Regions from separate parts of the Homo sapiens genome. Here region 1 is linked to region 2. The links are contacts of gene promoters, found by promoter capture Hi-C in blood cells and fetal thymus (Javierre and others, 2016). All regions are on one chromosome and are shown on one strand. The core of a region is centred on a gene start or on the middle of the fragment in contact, and the rest is flanking DNA. Distances in the headings are between cores, read along the strand shown.

Region 1 (3,669 bases), core at 558-3,057, 120 kb after region 2:
ATTTCACGCCTCCAAGAAGGAGCTCCATGGCTCAGTACAGAGAGATCAAGCTGTCAGGGGGACAGACCTGGGCTTAAATCCTGACTCCACCACTCATGCTGTGTGACTTGGGGCAGGAGACTTCACCTTTCTGAGGCTCAATTTGTTAGTAAAATGAGGATGATAGCAGACCTTTACCTCCTCAGACTGTCATGAGGACTTAGAAATAATATATTGGTTCAAATAGCACAGAGTAGTCCAGGCACAGTGGCTCACGACTGTAATCTCAGCACTTTGGGAGGCTGAGGCGGGTGGATGGCTTTGAGCCTAGGAGTTCTGAGACCAGCCTGGGCAACATGGCAAAACCCATGTCTCTACTAAAAATACAAAACTAGCTGGATGTGGTGGTGCACGCCTGTGGTCCCAGCTATCTGGGAGGCTGAGGTGGGAGGATGGCATGAGCCTGGGAGGCAGAGTTTGCAGTGAGCCAAGATCATGCCACTGCACTCCAGCCTGAGTGACAGAGCCAGACAGTCTCAAAAAAAAAAAAAAAAAAGGAAAGCATAGACCACAATGCTGTGGGGGCTGCTGCTGCTAATGAAGACAAAGAGGAAGATATATTTTAAGTCCCTGAATGCTGGATACTCCTAAGCAGAACTTGACTTTGACTTAGGGCTGCTGGAGAAGCAAAGGGGCACTTCGGGTCTAGAGGGCAAAGCAGGTGTGTAAACAGGAAATAGGCTTGAGGTCATGTCTGTAATCCCAGCACTTTGGGAGGCTGAGGTGTGTGGATCACATGATCTCAGGAGTTCGAGACCAGTTTGGCCAATGTGGTGAAACCCTGTCTCTCCTAAAAACACAAAAATTAGCCTGGCCTGGTGGTGTGCACCTGTAATCCCGGCTACTCGGGAGGCTGAGGAGGCGTGAGATGCGCTTGAACCCAGGAGGCGGAGGTTGCAGTGAGCCGGGATTGTGCCATTGCACTCCAGCCTGAGCGACAGAGTGAGACTCTGTCTCAAAGGAAAAAAAAAAAAAAAGAGCCTGGACTTTAAAAATAAAGCTAAAGCTTAATTTAATTTTTTTTAAAAGGGGAAATAGGCTTGAGCCTAGAAGCCAGGAAAGTGGGCAAGAGTGGCAAGCAGTGTCTCGGGTGGGCCAGAGCTGAGGCTGGGCATGGTTTGAGGGTCTCTGAGGCCCACTGGGGGACCACATGGCCCTGCAGCAGGAGCAGACACACATCTCTTTGTGTATGTGTTTGTCTGCCACCCCTATCATCCTGTTTTCCTGCCACCCCTATCATCCTGTTTTCCTGCTTGTTTGGGTCCCTAGGTTAGCTTTCCCTAACCCCCCAGAGGCTGCCCCTGGCCTGGGCGCTGCTGAAGCCCCGTGTGCTTAGATGCAGCAAGGGGACTGGGCAGAGGGAGGTGGGTATCATTGAGTCTTGGGCCCAAGTTCATCTCCTGGCCCAGCCATGGACTCAGAGTATGGCCTGAGGCTTGGTCTCCCTGTCTCCTGCCAAGCTAGGGGTCTGAGGAGCCTCTCTGAGCTCCCACATGCCACAGCCCTACAGATGAGGGCAGTGCCTATGGGGAAAGAACCCTTGGGTTCCCTCACAGAGCAAGGATGATGCTGGGGGCTGAGTAGAGAGATCACCAAAGCAGCAGACATTCAGAGAGAGGCTGGGGAACTGAGCCACAGAGAGGGTCCCCAGGGGTGGCCAAGAGGAAGAGGCCATGGCTGGGGGGCCCTGAGGGGTGAAGAATCTCGCTCTGCTGTCCCCGGTGGGCTGGCTGCTCCCCCCCACCACTCCCCGCCGGGCCCCCGGGGGACCTCGCTCTAATAATGTATTTGATCGACTCGCCGGCCGCGTACAAGCGATTATTGTCTTGTCGGGAGTCAAACGTATCGATCCGGCGAGAAATATGAGCGGAGCAATGGGGCCCGCGTGTCAGTTACCAGCCCCGCTGGCCCTGGGGAGCCCCCTACGTCTCCTTTAATTACCGCTCAGCCCTGAGCCCAGCCTGGCCTCCCCTGTACCGCCTCCCTCCCAGCTCCCTGCACCTCAAGTGGCCCCCACTGCTCCCTAGCTCCCATGCCCTACCTGCCTCCCTCAGCATGGCTCGAGGCCTCTTCTGTGGCAACGAGGCCACCATCTCCCCCTGCCTTGAGCCTCCCTGTTCCAGCTGCCAGTGTGTTCCAAACTCTGCCCCTCTATCCTCTCTCAGGCAGGCCCATCCTCCTTCAAGATCCCCTCACCAGGCCCAGCTCTGGTCTGAGGCACTGAGAATGGAGCCAGCATGGGAGGCGAGAGGTGTGGGGTTGTTTCATCTCTCAGGGAGCGTATACAGCCTTCCCCGGCTCCAGGACTGAACTGCAGACCTGGCCGCACTGGAAGTGGGTGGTCCTTCTCTGCTGGCTCTAGGGGGCTGGAATGGGGTCACATCCAAAAGCGTGTTCCTGACGTGGATGATGTTGAGTCTGTCCAGGGTGGAGCATAAGGGTGGCTGGTGAGGTTTTGCCCCCCCCCATAATGTCCTATAGCCCCATTTCCAAGCCCCCCAAAACAAATCCTAACTGAAAACAAAGCTTACTGCGTAAATGTCGCTTTGAGACAAGGCTCCAGTGTCCACTGCTACCAGGCTGCTGTCGGGAAGACCCTCATGTATAGAAATCCTGTGGCCAGTTGCTGTGTGGTCTGTGGATCTCCTCTGTGAAATGGCCTTTACGATACGGGATGTTGTGGAGTGTAGATGCCGGGAAACGGTCACCTCTCGTGTGCATATATGAGAACTGCCAGTCCTTCCTGTTGTGCCCACCTGCTTGCCTGGGTGTGTCTGGGTGCACAGGGCACGTGTGCAGTCAGGGGAGGGCACTCCTGTAGTTGTGCCTGTAGTATACCCTTTCTGAGTGTGCCTGTGTGTGAGTGGGTGCGAGTGGCCAGGAAGTATGCTTGGGCACATATGTGTAGAAGTGCCCTTGTGCCCATGGGTCCATGTGAGGGAGTAGAGGAGGTATCAGTATATGGGAGTGACCATCGTCAGCAGGGAGGGCTGGTGTTGGGGCCTGTGCACATAGATGTGTTCATGCACGTGTGTGTGCACACGTGTGTGTGTGTGAAGTGCTGGGGTTCATCTGTAGAAATACTTGTGTGTGTGAGGGTGAGTCCAGGCGTCTGTGCATGCACCTGTGGTTTAGGGGGCCCCCCAGCCACGGGGCGCAGGATGTCCTGCGGGGCCCAGGCGGGCATGTGGGGTGTCTGGAGACGCCAGGCAGCCCCACAGCCTCAGACCTCGGGCACCAAGAGGAAGAGGGCAGCGGACTCGGGCGCGCCTTTGTCTGAGCTGCGGTGCGCCGGGAGTCCTGCGCCTTTGTGTGACCCTCGCAGGTGTGCGAGCGGAGGTGTTGGGAGGGTGTTGGGGAGGGGAGCGGAGGGAGGGGCTCCCTTCTCCGCAGCCGGCCCCGCCCTCCGGCCCATTGGCTGGGCGCTGCCGCCCTCTGGCGGGCACGGAGGGAAGCGCTGAAATGGGAGCGCCGCAGCGCGAAGAGCCAGCCGGCAGCCCGGGGACCTGGTGCTCCCCTCCACTGGAGCCGCCTCGGGCGCCCGCATTTGGCCGGCGACTTATTGTAGCCCCAGGCCAAGTCCCCGACCCACCGTCCCCACTACCACTGCCCACGGGCACCACTTCCTCC
Region 2 (3,339 bases), core at 176-2,675:
TCCCAGAGGGTTACAATATCCGTGGGGGAGCTGTACTGTCCGTAGGCAAGGTTACATAATTCCCGGGGGTTGTGGGGGAAAGCTTCCCTGGAGCCCTTGGTCTCCCCAAGGAGGAGGCCTGAGACTTTTTTTTTTAGGCACTGGTGAGGAGCCTGTCTAAGGTGGACTAGGTACCCCGCAAGCGAGGAGGCTGGGATTGAAGCCCTGGGTACCGGGAGCCTGAGCTCCGCAGGCCTTCCCTATCTGTGACTTTTCTGTCTCCCCGCCCATCTTCTGGATTCGTCCCCCACCCAGCCCCCCCAACTCCCGCCCGCCACCCATACGCCCCTCCTTCGGAACCTCAGAGTCTTTTTTGAGACTCTGTTTCCAGGCTATGCCTGTGAATATTGCTTCTATTTGGCCTCTACCCTGCTGCCGGCTCCTGGGCTCCATCAGATCTGCGCTGTGATTTCCTGTTTCCCAGAGCCTCAGGCTTCATCCTTCCCTCCCGGCTGAGGCAGAGAACGGAGACTTAACACTTCTCTACGCTCTGGCTTTCGATCTTAAGCCCTGTCTTCCTCTCTCCTGGCGACCCTCAGTGCCCCTTGGGAGCACATTTGTTCAGACTTTGGTCGCCCCCTCGTATCCCGGCCCCGCCTCCGGAACCCCCGGTCCTAGTAGTGGACGTGGGGGGACCTCCGGCGCCAGCCCTATCCCCGGGACAGCTGCAGCCTGGGGACGGTGGTGGTGGGGGCTTCCAAATGCATTCTCTCTGGTCACTTCCTCCCCAGCTGGACGGGGGTTATCAGGGAAGCCAAGACCCCATCCCCACAGGAGCGGAGGGCACAGCCGCCTCCCCATTTCCGATGCTGGGAAATGCATCCCACCCATTCCACCCCACCCCTGGACAGCTGCCCCCATTCAGGCTCAGGGTTGGGGGGTTGGGTAAAACCAAGCTGGGAAATGCTGTGGTCTTCATCATCTTCTAAGGTCCTGACCCCGCCCCTCTGCAGAGAAGATTCTGCCCCCTCCCCACAAAAGTTTCTGACCCCCGCTTCCTCGGAAGGGCCCCCCGTTTTCCCATACAGGCTCCCAAAAGAAACTCTGGAGCCCGCAGTGGGCAGGAGAGGAGGAGGGGCAGCAGGTAGCGAGTGCCGAAGACTTAAGTTAGCTGCAGACTCGGAGCCTCTGACTAGGGTCATGACCCGCGGGACCCCATCCCACCCCCACCCCCTCCTTCCTCCCTCCCCCGCCGCGCGGCCCCTTTAAGCCCAGAGCCGGCCGGTCCTCAGTGGCTGCGCGCCGACGAGCGTGTGTGTGAGTGCGCGGGGAGGGGGCGGGCGCAGTGTCTCCATGGCGACGCGGCGGTGACGTCGCCGGCCGGGGGGCGTGGGCGTCCCGGCCCCGGAGTGCGATATTAACCCGGGAGGCGGCGGCGGGGAGGGGAGAGGCTCTGAGAGGCGAGGCCGGGTGAGGCGGCGAGGGCGGCCCGACGGGCGCGGGACGGGACGGGGCAGCGAGGGCGCCGGGAGCCGCGGCCCGGAATCGGGGCGCTTCGCCCCGGGCCCCCCAGCATGAAGACCCCGGCGGACACAGGTGGGGGCGGGGGCAGCACGTGTGGGGGAGACTTGTTGCCCCGGGAAACCGAACGGAGAAACTTTGGGGGGGCTGAAGGGGTCCGGGGGAGCCCGAGTGATCCCCAGTTCTGGGGGACCCCTCAAGCACTGGAGACCTGTTGCTTCTCGTGGCGCGAGCGGGGTTGCTGCCTGGGACCCCCGATTCCTGGCTCCGGGCGGAGTGGTGTGGGTGCTGCGGGTCTTGGTCCTGTATCCCTACCGGGACCCCGCAGGCCGGGCTCTCCCCCACTCCCGGGATCACGGGGGTGGCGGGGTCCTTCCCCTCCGCTCTTGTCACGTTGCACTCTGGGGGCCGGGACGTGTGCGGGGCGGGGGGGCTCGTCCACCGGGCCCGCTATCCCTGGTTCTGCGCTGCGCGGTCCTGCTGGTGACCTTCACGGCGGCGCGTGCCCTGCACCAGGTTAGCGGGGGATACGGGATGGCCTCTAGGAGGAGGGCGTGAGTGGGGAGCCCGGGACTCGGGGTCCTGGCTGCGCCGCCCCTCCCCCGCCCGCCTCTGTCGGCTCCTCGCTCCCCCGCCCTCGCCGAGTCGCAAAGTTCCAAAGCGCAGCCCGAACGTTCGAAAAAGGAACTTTTTGTTTCCGACCTTAGAACGCGCGGCTTTAAGGTGGCTCCGGGGAGACCTGGGTACCCTCCTCCCGCGCCACCGGTGGCCCGGGGTTGAGGAGGGTGGGGAAGGTGGGGGGAGACGCAGAGGCTCCCCCCTCGCCCCCCCTCCCGGATCCACCTCTTCTCTTTCAGCGGGCCGTCTCTTCCCTCCGCCCCTCTCTTCCCCGCCAACTTGCTCCTCCTTAAGGGGCCAAGGTTCCCCTCCCCCTCGGTCGGCGGGCGGGGGGCAGCGGGATTAACTCCCCCTCCCACTCGGACTTTTCCCCCTCCCCTCCCCCGCCGCCCCCGGGCTCGCGCGGGCTGGACTTTGCGCCCGAGCGCGCAGGGGGAGGGGTCCCAGCCGCCCCCTGCCCGTCTACCCCGTCGGAATCCGGCCCGGGGCGGGGACGGGGGAGGGGGAAGGGGGCCGGGCGCCGCTGTTCAAACTTGTTTCCTTCCCCCGGCGGCGGCGGCGGCGGCGGCGGCGGCTCGGGCTCCTGTGTGCGGGTGTGTGCCCCGACCGGCCCACCCACCCCACCCCATCCCCACCCCATTCCCACCCCATTCCCATCCCCATCCCCCTGCTCGGCGGGTGGGGGCGGCTTAATCTTAAAGGGCTCCGAGCTGGGATCCGGCGCCAGGGGATTGGGACCCGGACCGAGGAGGGGCCCTGGGGGTGGGGCCGGGGTGCGGAGTGCGGTAGGGTCAGTCACGTGCGTCCTACACACTCCCCCGGCTTCCACTCGCTCCCGGGTGGCTGGGCCCTGGGGGCAGCAGGAGCCTACCCTCGCCCAAGGAGGAGGCCGAGGCACCCAGACAACCTCGCTTCATCTTCTCTCCCTGCTACCGGCCTTGGCCTGATAGGATCCGCGGGTCGCTTCCCCAACCCTGTCGGGGGGCGGGACAGTGTGTGGGTTTTCCGGCTGGGGGAGGGGAGGGGAAGGAGGCCTGGAATGGCCTCCGATCGGTGCATCTTTCCCGTCTGCCTCCTGGCCTGCCGCTCCGCACCCCTCCATCCAGTTCTCCATCCCGGTCCCTCTCTCTGCCGTGGCTGTTTCCCACTTCCTGTTTTCTTCCCGGCTCTGGCGCCATAGAGGGCCGCCTGGAGTGGGGGAGGTGGTGGGGCCCCCCAGGA

The links. The method cuts DNA at HindIII sites, captures the fragments that hold promoters and counts their contacts. A CHiCAGO score of 5 or more calls a contact.
Region 1: a fragment that was not itself captured here is called in contact with the fragment with the promoter of ERF in region 2 in 16 of 17 cell types (fetal thymus, naive CD4 T cells, naive B cells and 13 more); the score reaches 27.1 in fetal thymus.

Annotation. Positions count from the first base shown.
Region 1 is chr19:42,133,053-42,136,721 of GRCh38, reverse strand. LNROP (long non-coding regulator of POU2F2) reads right to left here. Exons shown (of 3, transcript NR_038332.1): 3 at 1-50. It overlaps MIR4323 (microRNA 4323), which reads left to right and starts at 3,209; the gene lies at 3,209-3,277. It also overlaps a transcript of POU2F2 not described here. RefSeq lists an enhancer at 3,005-3,054 and a silencer at 3,335-3,594. The HindIII fragment of the contact is 1,520 bases long and covers 1,048-2,567 here.
Region 2 is chr19:42,253,214-42,256,552 of GRCh38, reverse strand. It overlaps ERF (ETS2 repressor factor), which reads left to right and starts at 1,425. Exons shown (of 4, transcript NM_006494.4): 1 at 1,425-1,575. The coding sequence starts at 1,554. RefSeq lists enhancers at 197-728, 1,369-1,868 and silencers at 1,224-1,623, 1,634-2,323, 2,404-2,473, 2,564-2,683, 2,704-2,753 and 1 more. The HindIII fragment of the contact is 3,576 bases long and covers 85-3,339 here.